Regions from separate parts of the Homo sapiens genome. Here region 1 is linked to region 2. Evidence: promoter capture Hi-C in 16 types of primary human blood cells and fetal thymus (Javierre and others, 2016). All regions are on one chromosome and are shown on one strand. Each heading gives the region's core, a stretch centred on a gene start or on the middle of the fragment in contact. The rest is flanking DNA. Distances are from core to core; before and after follow the strand shown. Region 1 holds the start of RPS20 (ribosomal protein S20). Region 2 holds the start of ATP6V1H (ATPase H+ transporting V1 subunit H).

Region 1 (6,628 bases), core at 2,782-5,281, 2.2 Mb after region 2:
CCTATAACCCTAGCACTATGGGAGGCCGAGGAGGGTGGATCGCCTGAGCATAGGAGTTTGAGACCAGCCTGGGCAACATGGCAAGACCCCATCTCCACAAAAAAAGCCAGGCCAAGCGTCAAGGTGTGAGCCTGTAGTCCCAGCTACTTGAGGTTGAGGCAGGAGGATCGGTTCAGCCAGGGAGTTGAAGGCTGCAGCGAGCCATGTTCGCACGACTGCACTCCAACCTGGGTGACACAGCGAGACTGTTTCCATTTAAATTCAAAAAAAAAAAAAAAAAATTCTGACCCAGCAATGAACAGCCATGGTGGTTTCTGTTCCCTTGGTTATTGCTAGCTTACATTTCTACACCAGAAGCAGTGCTCTGCAAATCCAAATAGAGTAAGCACTGCAGAGATATCCTATTTTCAACCTTCCTTTAACTCCCATCCATACAAGATGGCCTGTTAACTTGCATAGAATTATTGGCATCATTACCACTATTTAATCTATCCTGAATTCCCTATATTCAAAGGCCCTGCAGTTTTATTTCCATGCAGGTATTTTTAAGTGTTTGAGAAATTGAAGATAACAGCAGTTTCAAATTTTTTAGTGCTATTTTAGCTGTAATACAGGTTCTCAATTACGTATAGCTTTAATCCAACACTTTAACCATTGTGAAAAAACACAACTGCTCATGTTCACAATTCCGTGAAAGCCATGAAGCTGTCCTTCCACTATTTTCTGATTTACTGAAGTGTATTTTTCACAGTATATGTTCTCTGGACTTTAGTGACATTTTTTTCAGAATTTCATTTCCTCAGTCAGTTCTCAAGACATGTGTGCTCTAAAGACTGCTATGCTGCACTAAAAGTTCATAGGTATTTGTCTGGGGGCCACGTATTGATAGGTATTCCATTTTAAAATGGTCTTATTAACTGATAGCTAAACAGCTCCCAAAGATCAACTGTTTGGTTTAAATTTAGCAATGTGGCATAATTCATTCCAGACTCAGTTCCATTCAAATCCTTGATGTTAACTGGGTTTGTCTTGAGATCTGAAGTAGACTCAGAAGGAATTGGATGTTGGGTAACAGCAGTAGGGGAGGGGCAAGGGGTGACTCCAGTTTGAACTGTGAGACTTCAGTAGACAATGGATTCAGACTAGGAACACAGGACAGAGCTTCTGGGAGGGAAGATTTCATTTTAGACACATTAGCTTTTCAGCTGTGGGTTGCAGGTGCCTAGCATGCAGTTGGTTGTATACAGAAATCTCAACTGAAGGTCAATTTGAAAAGATAGCAGAGTTCAGCGTGAAAGCCTAGGCCCAAATCCAAAAAGAAAAAACTTGAATTACCCAACTTTGATCCTATTAAAAATTTCAAAAATTTTCTGAAGGCAATCTTAACAATTTGTAGATGTTCCATTTTTCCACAATAAATCTATAGAAACTTTCCCCAATAAGTTTAGCAAACCTGTAAGGGTATCTATCTGATTTTAAATTCTAGGCTGGGTACAGTGGCTCACTCCTGTAACACCAGCAGTTTAGTAGGCTAACACAGGCTGATGGTTTGAGTCTTCAGAGTTCCAGACCAGCCTGGGCAACATGGCAAAACCTCACCTCTACAAAAAACAATTAGCTGGGCATGGTAGCCACATGCTTGTTAAGTCCCAGCTACTAGGCAGTTTGAGGTGGATTGCATGAGCCCAGGTCAAGGCTGCAGTGATCACACCACTGCACTCCAGCCTGGACTGCAGAGACCCTGTCTAAAACACTGAAAATATAAGTATTTTTAAAAAATGTAAAAGTGAAAATGGGCCAGGCATGGTGGCTCATGCCTGTAATCCCAGCACTTTGGGAGGCTGAGGCAGGTGGATCACCTGAGGTCAGGAGTTTGAGACCAGCCTGAACAACAGGACAAAACCCCATCTCTACTATAAAATAAAAAATTAACCAGGCTTGGTCGCAGGCACTTGTAATCCCAACTACTTGGGAGGCTGAGGCAGGAGAATTGCTTGAACCTGGGAGGCAGAGGTTGCAGTGAGCCAAGAACACACCACTGCACTCCAGCCTGGGCCACAGAGCAAAACGCCGTCCCCCCCCCCAAAAAAAAAAAGTGAAAATTTTATATTTAAAATATAAAACACTGAAAATATAAGTATTTTTAAACTAAGTTTTAGTTCCTAAAACCCTAAAACTTAGTTTTAGTCCTGCCTCTGCCACTTAATCCTTTTTTAAGGACGTTAAACTTGGTTAATTTAAAAATATTAGTTACTAGCTTTTTAACACGTGCCTACTAGCGCACTAGGTTCTCAACCATGGGTGTGCATTACAAACGCCCCAGAAACCTTAACACCCCATACCAATCAGAATTTATCTAGAGTATGCCAAAGTTATAAACTGCCAGTGTCCAATAAAACCAGTCAGGTCTCACATATTATGTAGTTAACGGAATCCAGTTTTCAAATGACTCAAACGACAACGAAAACAGGATAGACCACTCTAAGATACCCATATATTCCACCTGAAAAGTGGAAGTCTCATAGTACACCTTTATATTCCTAAAATCTGCCAGTATTCTGAATAAAAACCAACAGAAGTTAACAACTGGTCATCAATTTATTAAAATAGTTGACTTAAGCATCTGCAATGGTGACTTCCACCTCAACTCCTGGCTCAATACTGATGGAAGTAATCTGCTTAACAATCTCAGAAGGACTGTGCAAGTCAATGAGTCGCTTGTGAATTCTCATCTGGAAACGATCCCACGTCTTAGAACCTTCACCACAAGGAGTTTTTCTTGTAGTGATTCTCAAAGTCTGTAACAAAAGACAAAGGAAACCAAGTGTTTATCGTTTTATACTTATCCCTAGAACATCTGGAAAATCATTACTTCTAATCATTTCATTAGTTTCCCTTTGGTATGATTCCAATTTACACTAATAGATTTTCAGGTACCATGGGTTGAAAATGCCAGGTCTGTTTTCACTGTGCTAGGACACCACCCTTAGAGCTTGCGCCTGTTAAGCACCAAAGCACACCAAGAACACAGCAACAATAATTCAACAATCATATCTAAACATTAGCTACTTACTAGGAACCGCAATCTACCACCGATTTCTATGTGCGTTTGTAGACAGCATCAGTGTTAACAATTTTGGCAGCCGAACTCCTTAAAGAACCTGAATTTATGCAACATCCGGAAGCAACTCCTACTTCCTGCCCCTCCGATTTACTTTACCTTGGTAGGCATTCGAACTGGTCCTTTCACTTTGAGATTCTTTTCTTTTGCGCCTCTTATCAAGTCAGCACACACTACAGGAAATAAAAGACCTCTCAGTATAATCGAAACAATTAAAATCGGCTTAAGGCCTTCACTTCTGCTGGCTCAGAATAGCGTATAAAATTATCACCGTTACTCAACACAATAGGTACCTCCTCATCGCCAGCTGTATGACAGTAAAAGCAATTTTAAGCCACGCTTTACTTTTTTAAGTAACTTGTCACTTTAGTTCTTGCAGTCCACCTTCTACACTAACATTAACGAGTAAAGCTCGTCGCTTTTCGCCCAATTCCCCCTCCCCCCCGCATAACGAATGCACTGACCCTTTTCCAAGGATTTTACGTTGCGGCTTGTTAGGGTGATTCGAATTCGGTGAATTGCCACCTCCGGCTCCACGGGTGTTTTTCCGGTATCCTTAAAAGCCTATTATTAGATACATGAAAAAGAACAATAAGCCAAAAATGGTCTGCCACTTCTGGAGAAAGGCAGCTTCCGGAAGCTTCCCGCGTTTCCCCACCATTTCAGGAGCGCCTTTCCGCCCCTACACGCCCCGGCATCTGCCCTCAGGAGCACGAACTCGAAACCGGGGTCCCCCCGGCGCCCGAGCCCTGCGTTGCGCCGCCCGCCGCCGACTGCCGCCTCACCATGGCTGTTGCGCGCGGGCTTCCTGACCGACTTGTTCCTCGGCGAGAGCGAACAGCGGTGAGTCAGGAGCAGGAGCGTGCGGACCAAAAATCCTCAGCCCTTACGACCGCGTCTTCCTCAAAAAGAAAGGGGTGGGACTTGAGCAACGCTTATATAGCACGCTTGCATCCGGGTCCCACACGCCCCGGAACAGGAAATATCCCGGGCCCTAGAGGCGGTCGCACAAGGGCGAGCTGGAGCACTAGTGGAGTTGGCGGGAAAGGCACGGCTGCGGGCGCCCCCTGTCCGCACGGAGGAGCCGAAGTCCCGCAGGGTGGGGTCCCCGCCTGCGCCGAGAGGGCCACCTGGTCGAGAGAACAGGCGACACGGAAACCTGAGAAACTCCTCTGTCTGGTGCACCTAACCCTCTTCCTCATAAAGTGCACACGAACTCTGGTTTTTCCGTTGCAAATTTTGCTTTCTACATAGACCATACCATTCGTTGCTCTCTGAGGATGAGGTAACTTCTCTGAGCTTAGCTGACATGAGCATTGGCAGAAATGCTTCTCGTAATCTGGATAACTTACGTTAGAATTAGTAAGCAGTTATTTTTCATAGCCTGAAACGTCCTGTTGTGATATTTCAGCTCCTGGCTTCCCAGTCCAGCAGAAGTATCTACATCTATTTCTGGAAAGGACCTGAACTTGGCTTCTCGTCCTTCTGGAAAGTGAGGCGAAAATGCCAGGCTGCGCAGCTATCCTGAGGCCCGGCCTGGAACCTGGCTAGCCACCCAGTCCTGATACCTCATCTCCTTTCTGTTGGATAAAGTCATTGGATAAGATCCCCCAGGGTCTTCTTAATACTGAACATCTGTTCATAATCACATAAGTGACCAAGTATAGTGGAAAACCCGAATGGTCAACTGAGCTGAGCAGTGGGAGAGAGCGCAGGGTGAGCTCACCTACACCTGAGCAAGAAGCCGGGGCTAAATACGTGGAAATCACTGAGATGGATTTTGATACAGGGCAGAAAGAAGAGTAAAATCATCTCATATTACTTTCCACCTGAAGCTCTGAGCCGAAAGAGTTATTTGCTCAAACACTCTGAAATGGGGAGGGACAGAGCTCTGACCCCTCCGTCCAGGCCTGTTTGTTGTTTTTTTTTTTTGTTTGTTTTGTTTTTTTTTTTTTGTGAGACGGAGTTTCATTCTTGTTGCCCAGGCTGGAGTGCCATGGCGCGATCTCGGCTCACCGCAAACTCCGCCTCCTGGGTTCAAGCGATTCTCCTGCCTCAGCCTCCGGAGTAGCTGGGATTACAGGCATGCGCCACCATGCCCGGCTAATTTTTTTTTTTTTTTTTTTTTTTTTAGTAGAGACGGGGTTTCTCCATGTTGATCATGCTGGTCTCAAACTCCAGATCTCAGGCCCGCCTCGGCCTCCCAAAGTGCTGGGATTACAGGCGTGAGCCACCGCGCTCGCCCCGTCAGGACTCTTTCTTGAGGTTTTGTCTTCTGTTCCTTGGTAGGAAATTATGTTTGAAACTTTAATCAAATAATAGCATTGTCTTATTTGGTGATAATTGGAACATAACTAATAACTGGGTTTCTTTGGCTCACGATACGTATGAGGTTTTTTGCTGCCATTTTAACAATTATTTTAAATTTTCAAATTTGGATGTTTTCCAGTTCAGTTTTTTGGGTTTTTTGTTTGTTTGTTTTTTGAGATGGAGTCTCGCTCTGTCGCCGAGGCTGGATGCAGTGGCACGATTTTGGCTCCCCGCAACCTCCACCTCCTGGGTTCAAGCAATTCTCCTGCCTCAGCCTCCCGAGTAGCTGGGACCACAGGCACGTGGCACCACTCTCAGCTAATTTTTTGTGTTTTTACTAGAGACGGTGTTTCACCGTGTTAGCCAGGATGGTCTCAATCTCCTGAACTCGCGATCTGCCTGCCTTGGCCTCCCAAAGTGCTGGGATTACAGGTGTGAGCCACCTATCCCGGCCCCAGTTCAGTTATTTTTAAATGTAATCCATTGTCTGTAAATACTCTCTTAGTAGAATTTTCAGCAGAAATTCTGAAAACCTGCATTCTTATTGTGCTAGCTGTAACCTGAGACTTCATAACTTAGAGGTTTAACTTATTGGTATGGCTGTGTGCGACAAATAGACAAAAGCACAATTGCCCTGCTCCCTGGGGTGTGATCAGCCACCGCTGTAGTACTGCCTGGAGGTGACTGTGCATATTTTAAGTGAACATATACAGCGGCATTCATGTTTTACTAATGCTCAAAGATGACTGGAAATTCAATGAAGGAATTTCATTGAGAAGTACAATTGTAATTTTGTACAAGTGTGATTTTTTTTTTATAACAAATCTGGTACATCTTTTTCTTAGGCTTACCTCATCCTTTAAGTATTTGAGGAACTGGTGAACAAGTTAACTACTTTGATAGTAAACGAGGAAATTTCTTTATAGAGAAAAGCAAAATGTGGCCCAGCAGGTATGTGAAAAATGGCTGATGTGACTAGAACTAAGGAAACAAATGGTTAAGATAATATTAGACAAAAGTAATGGAAATTTTTTTTTTTTGGAAAACAGTATGGAGGGTCCTCAAAAAATTAAAAATGGAACTTCCATGTGAACCAGCCATCCCACTTCTGGGTATATACCCAAAGAAAATGAAATTGGTATCTAGAAGAGATACCTGCACTCCCATGTTTATTGCAGCATTATTTACAGTAGCTAA
Region 2 (6,485 bases), core at 2,411-4,910:
AGCTTCTCTCTACCTCTAGACTTATCACCTACAAACTCACCCTTCATGCTGCTAGTAGAACAATTCAATCAAGAGGCAGATATGGTCTTCTAACTCCCGGCTACAAGATTCATTGGTTTCCAACACCTACAGCTCCTTGGAAAATGGTGAATGGTCTCAAAAAGAGGGCTCTGGGACACACACTCCCACCTCCATTCTATCATTTTCATCTGTTTTACATGCTAACTTCATATCAATCATGGGCTTCACAGCTTAAAAATCAGCTTGAAAAGCACTGACTGATAGGATCAAGTCCAAACTCCTTCCAACCACACACCCACACACAGCATCTTCACGATCGGCCCCTGGCTGCCTCTCTAGCCTCAGCTCTCTGCATTGCCTGCCTCCAAAACATGTATGACTCCCACCCAGTGTGCTGTTTTTGCTTCCCTGCCTTTGCTCACATTATCTGTTCTATTCCCAAGGCTGCTCCTACTTGCCACATGGCTAAATACCCATCATCCTCAAAAACTCAGTTCAGGGACCAGCCCCTTCAGGAAAATTTCCAAGGGGTAGAATTACTTGTCTTTTTTATGTGCACCTGCCAGACCCTGTGCATCTTTCTATTGCCACAGTTAACATACTGAATTAGAGCCGGGCACGGTGGCTCACGCCTGTAATCCCAGCACTTTGGGAGGCCAAGAGGGGCAGATCACGAGGTCAGGAGTTCGAGACCAGCCTGGCCAACATGTTGAAACCCTGTCTCTACTAAAAATACAAAAAAATTAGGCGGGCAAGGTGTCAGGTGCCTGTAATCCCAGCTACTCGGGAGGCTGAGGAAGGAGAACTGCTTGAACCCGGGAGGCGGAGGATGCAGTGAGCCAAGACTGCCCCACTGTACTCCAGCCTGGGCAACAGAGTGAGACTCTGTCTCAAAAAAAAAAAAAAATAGTGAATTAAAATGATCTATTAATACATCTGACTTCCCTACTAGAGTTTTAGTTCCTTCAGGGACAGTACTCTGTATGGAATTTTTGTAGCCTCAAAGCCTGGAAAAATGCCTCAAACTTGGCAGGTAATCAATAAATGTTTGATGAGTGATTAAATTAACAGAAATTAAAGGATCATTTTTGTACATTATAGATCCCTCCTACAACAACACAAACTATTAATACTAATATAAAATTAACACTAATATAAAACTAGATTCCTCAATTTGTTTTTCAAAATGCATATGCAAATCTGAACTGAATTCCTTGGTAACTCAGTTATAAATATACCAAAATAAATATGAAGTCAATAAAATATGGTCAAGAATACATGAATGCTCACTTTATAGATAAATACAAAATACTGAAACATCAGCACATTAAATATTAATACATACAAGAAAGAAGGGGGAACTAAAATGTATTGTATTCAACATACTAATGCTTGTATTCTACTGTGCTAATAAATACATTATTTCAGCAACAAGCCTGTGGGGTATGTCTCCCCATTTCACATTTTACTTTATTGAGCCTCAGAGAAGTTAAGTGATTTGCTTAAGATCACCAAACTAATAGCAAGAACCAAAACTCAAATCCAAGTCTCTCAACTCAAATATCTGTGCTTCTTATTAGTTGTATGCACCACTCTAAAAAGGCCACCTGCCCCCATGCTGATTGCCAGGGCATATCAGACCAGTCTAGCAGGTTTTGCCCCTCATCCCCTTCCTCCCTCCGTTAGCCCAAGGACATTCCTCCTATGTTTCCCACTTATTCCAAAAGTACTTCCCCAGGCAGCCAGAGAAGGTCAAAAGCACCATAAGCCGCTCTGCTTCCCCACTAGGGCGCCAAGCTGTTTCCACCCCACTACACTTAACTCCCTAAGACAGCTAATTATTCTGAAGAGGAAGTGTTTCTTCCACATTTTTCAGTATTTTCCCTGTATTTCTCTCATAGAAGCATGACCATGAAAAAGTCTGATGCAAAAGCATATGACTGTCCATGATTCACAGCAAATTGGTACTTACTGAAGATAGGATTGCCAGTTGACTTTGTTTGCACGAACTTCTGCAGCCTTGGCAGCAATAATATTGGTGGGGACAGCAGCATCCACAGCACCTCGGATATCCATTTTGGTCATCTAAACTTCGTAATCTTGAATGTCTTTCAACAAATCTTCAATTTTGATGCAAGGTAAAAACAGAATACGAGGTGTTTCTTTTTTTTACAACTATTAATATTATGATTATGAATATCGTGATCACTTTAATCTCCCCAGGCATTCAACTCAAATATTAAATGTCCTAAGTCTGAAAGTATCATTATATTTCAAATATTGTCCACTGCTCCATAAAAGAGTTCTTTAGGCTTTTGCTTTTCTAGAAAAATTTTTTTCATTATTGGCACTAACACTGCAGTAAGATTTTTAAAGCAATCACCTAATATACTGAAATCAGAAATCATGATTAAATAGAATAGGTATAAATATGGGAAAAATTGTAAATTTATACAATTGTGGTTAACTTTTCTCATAGAGAAACAATAAGAATATGAATAGTACGGATAAGGCTAGTTTTATAAACATTTACTAAGCATCATTTTGAAGTGGCACATTAAAAATTCTAAGTCCTTTCGAAAATTACTCAAATTAAAATACACAAAGTGGGAACATAATTTCTTAGAAGACAGTGCTTTCCTTTTCAAACAAAATTCATAGTATTTGCAAAATCAAAATTCGGAGAGAAAGTTTTAGAACAAATACATATTACAATTTAGGTAAGCCAACAATGGCGGTCTGGCTGGACGACAAGAACCTACAATAATGAAATTCTATGTAATTCTCACTCCTAAACTTCCAGATACAAACGACTGATTTTAACACAAAGCAAAATACAGGTTGCCACTTGCAAAACATAAATTCACGGCCATGGCCACAAAGAAGTTAAAATCCTACCCAAAATTATATTCCGGGTTTCCAACGATCTTAATCAATTTGGAACTTAATCTCTGTATCTGAAGATTTGCTGTATAAACAACCCTGGGCAGCGCGAACGACAGGGCCCAGGAAAAAACAGGCTTCAACTGGGCCAGGCTGGAACTCTGCAGCCAAGGAGGCTCAGCCTCAGCGGCCCGTCCTGGCGTAGCTCAAGGTGTCTCTAGACAATTACCTAAGTCCCTGAACTACTCGCACCCCCAGCGATCCAGGGCCGTGGCCCAGTCCTGGAGAAGGTATACTTTTTACCCCTCCCCCTCCACTCTCCTGCCCGCCCCTGACGTTTCTTCCCCCTGCGAGAAAGGCTCCAGAATTTCGCTTAATAAACCTGGTTGAGGCCTGGAAGAAAAGCAATCTGGCAACCGGGGGCCGAAGAACAGGAGAGGACCAAGCGGCGAGACACCAGCACGCACCAGGCAAGCTGGAGAAACTGCAAGAGTCGCCTGACCTGGTCTGCAGCCTGAGACCAAACAACGCGAGGGCGGCCTTACCTCGCGAATCCTCGGGACCCCACAACGCACCCAAAGCCGGCAGGGAGGGTGGTCCGGGGCGCCGGGGACACAGCCGGGCTGGGGCGCCGCGTCAGAGCCAAGTAGGCGTCTCCTGTCAGGTCCAGAGGTCTGAGCAGTGGAGGGAGACTCCGGGAGCCGAAAGTGAAGCGGGTCCCGCACCAAGGAGACGTTGAGGGCCGCACAGGTAGAAGGAAGCCAGGGCGGCCGCAGTAGAATGACAGAGGCGCCGGTCACGTGATCGGAGGCACGTGACTGCTGCGGAAGGCGGAAGCCGGGAGACTCCAAAGCAGCAAGAGGAGGGGCGGGCGCTGCGGCGGGGCTTGTTCGGTGCGGACAACTGGATTCCCGAGTCCGTAACTTGGGCCCCGGAGCGACGCAAGGGTCGGGCCCCAGCCAGCCAGGGCAGGTGGGAGGCGGCGAGCGTGGCGGGCACGCTAAGACCCGCCGCCCCCAGACCTAGTGCCTCGCCTAGGGGAGGCCGAGGACCTCCGCCCGGAAGCAGCTAGCAGAGGCCAAAACGCTCTTATTGTAACCGTCATTCTTTTGAAAAGTTTGATTTCGCGCTTTCAAATTAATTTCCATTTGGATTTAACAGCTCCATGAAGCAGGCGTTCTTATTCTGATTTTAAATAGAAAACTCGGGCTGAGAAGTGGGTCTGAAAAGCTCTCTTAACCTAGGGTTGCACATTTAGCAAATAATAAATTCCATTGCAGTATTTACTTTTATACTAAAAAGTTATTCGTTGTTTATCTAAAATTCACATTTACAGGACGTCTGGTATTTTATCCAACAGTCCCATCTGGAGCCCAAATTTTCCCCTAGTCCAGGCCTCAGCAACTGTCTTTGCCTTAAAGTAAGAATGTACTGCCCTGGAGGTGAAGTATATATGATAGCATGTTTTCCTTAAAAAGCAATGAAAGGGGCCGGGCGCGGTGGCTCACTCCTGTAATCCCAGCACTTTGGGAGGCCGAGGCCAGTGGATCACCTGAGGTCTGGAGTTCGAGACCAGCTGACCAACATGGTGAAACCCCATCTCTACTAAAAATACAAAAAATTAGCTGGGTGTGGTGGCGCATGCCTGTAATCCCAGCTGCTTGGGAGGCTGAGGTAGGAAAATCACTTGAACCCAGGAGGCAGAGGTTGCAGTGAGCCAAGACCGCACCATTGTACTCCAGCCTGGGCAGAAAAAGCAAAACTCCGTCTCAAAAAGAAAAAAAAAAAATTCTTTGAAAGGGATTTATAACCAACCCATTTTTACTCGTAAAATTAAAGTCAGAATAATCAAAATCATGCATTGATTATGAATAAAGATATATAATAACAGTGTCAAAGATTGTACTAGGTCACTCATTCTGTCTTAGCCAGAAGTGAAAGTCTGTTGTTTTGAAAGCAAATCTAAGGGGAAAAACTTTCATAAAAGAGAAAAAGAAACCGATCGTGTACTAAGAAACTCCCAAAAGCTGAAACAGCATGTTTTCTGTGTAACTGAGCAAAGCTGGCAGTGAGGCCTGATCTTCGCATTTCCTTTCTGTATCACCTAAGCCACAGACTGGCGTGATACAGCGAGTCTCATCAGATTTCGGGAGGCTCTCCTCTTTTCCTAGAGGCACAAAGTTATGGAACAAAATCAGGAACAGTGCAGTGAGCAGAGGGGACTGCTTCACAGGCACCTGGGCTGGCGTTCTCCGAGCATCACAACATTACCAGACAATTTGCCTGGAGTAGGGAGAAGAGAAGAGGCAGGTACTCCCGGCATTATCTCTCTTAACATTATTTCTGTAACACTTCTATCGGAGATTTTTCTTGGTCCATTCAGGCTCCTGTAACAGTGCTGTAGACTGGGTGGCTTATAAACAACAGAAAGTCATTTTCTCACAGTTCTGGAGGTTGAAAGTTCAGAATTGGGGTGCTATCATGGTGAGGTTCTGGGAAGGATTGTCCCAGGTTGCAAACTGCTGTCTTCTCATTGTAGCTTCACATGGTGGAGAGGTGAGAGAGCTCTCTGGGGTCTCTTTCATAAGGACATTAATTTCATTCATGAGAGCTCCACCCTCATGACCTGATCATTTCCCAAAGGTCCCACCTCCTAATATCATCACCTTGGGAGTTAGGATTTCAACACAGGAATTTTGGGGAGACACAGACCATAGCGGTGATCTCAGTTACCTAATTATATAACATACCTGGGGTCCCCATACCCTGGGCCACAGACTGGTGTGGTCCATGGCCTGTTAGGAACCCGGCTGCACAGCAGGAGGTGAGCGGCGGGCAAGCCCCATTACCGCCTAAACTCTGCCTCCTGTCAGATCAGCAGCGGTAGTAGATTTTCACAGAAGCATGAACCCTATCGTGAACTGCACATTGCAAGGGATCTAGGTTGCACACTCTGTATGAGAATCTAATGCCTGATGAGCTGAGGTGGAACAGTGTCATCCTGAAACCAGCCCCATCACCTCCCACCCTGTCTGTGGAAGAATTGTCTTCCTCGAAACTGGCCCCTGGTACCAAAAGGGTTGGGGACTGCTGTATTATGACATAAGAAAGATAACCTTTGAGCTACTTTGTAATTTCTTTGAAATTGAGCTTCAGATTTGTTATTTAGAAATGACATAAGGGGAAGTTAGATGAATCTATATGGACAGGAGAAAATAATATTAATAATGTATTTATTAAGTTAATGTTCAATTCTTCACTAGAATAGGATTACATGTTTGGAGATGTAAACTAGGAATCTACCACTTAGGAATCATCAGAAGGTAGAAAATATATGACGTTTCAAAGGAATTTCTTCTGTCTGAAATATATGGAATGCTATAAACACCATCATTTCCAATCTTTTCTTTCCAAGTATGAATTGAACTTATATTTGCCCACAGAAGTAGAAGAGTTCTAGTCAAAGAAAATCCTATTCTAAAATATTTGTCATGAAAACTTACCACCCCCAAGTGAAGATTATGCTGCCAGCCTACCTTCAGTTACACAAGGACTTTGAGAAGTTTTTATAGCTGACTGAA

Evidence for each region. The method cuts DNA at HindIII sites, captures the fragments that hold promoters and counts their contacts. A CHiCAGO score of 5 or more calls a contact.
Region 1: the fragment with the promoter of RPS20 here is called in contact with the fragment with the promoter of ATP6V1H in region 2 in 6 of 17 cell types (naive CD8 T cells, non-activated CD4 T cells, naive CD4 T cells and 3 more); the score reaches 22.4 in naive CD8 T cells.

What each region holds. Positions count from the first base shown.
Region 1 is chr8:56,070,475-56,077,102 of GRCh38, forward strand. It overlaps RPS20 (ribosomal protein S20), which reads right to left and starts at 4,032. Exons shown (of 4, transcript NM_001023.4): 1 at 3,907-4,032; 2 at 3,586-3,685; 3 at 3,221-3,294; 4 at 2,580-2,798. The coding sequence starts at 3,909. The coding sequence ends at 2,616. It overlaps SNORD54 (small nucleolar RNA, C/D box 54), which reads right to left and starts at 3,427; the gene lies at 3,365-3,427. CERNA3 (competing endogenous lncRNA 3 for miR-645) reads left to right here and starts at 4,118. Exons shown (of 2, transcript NR_149110.1): 1 at 4,118-4,406; 2 at 4,533-4,800. The HindIII fragment of the contact is 15,741 bases long and covers 3,760-6,628 here.
Region 2 is chr8:53,839,585-53,846,069 of GRCh38, forward strand. ATP6V1H (ATPase H+ transporting V1 subunit H) reads right to left here and starts at 3,661. Exons shown (of 14, transcript NM_015941.4): 1 at 3,450-3,661; 2 at 1,994-2,141. The coding sequence starts at 2,106. RefSeq lists enhancers at 3,610-3,749, 5,047-5,096 and a silencer at 3,820-3,969. The HindIII fragment of the contact is 7,596 bases long and covers 1-6,485 here.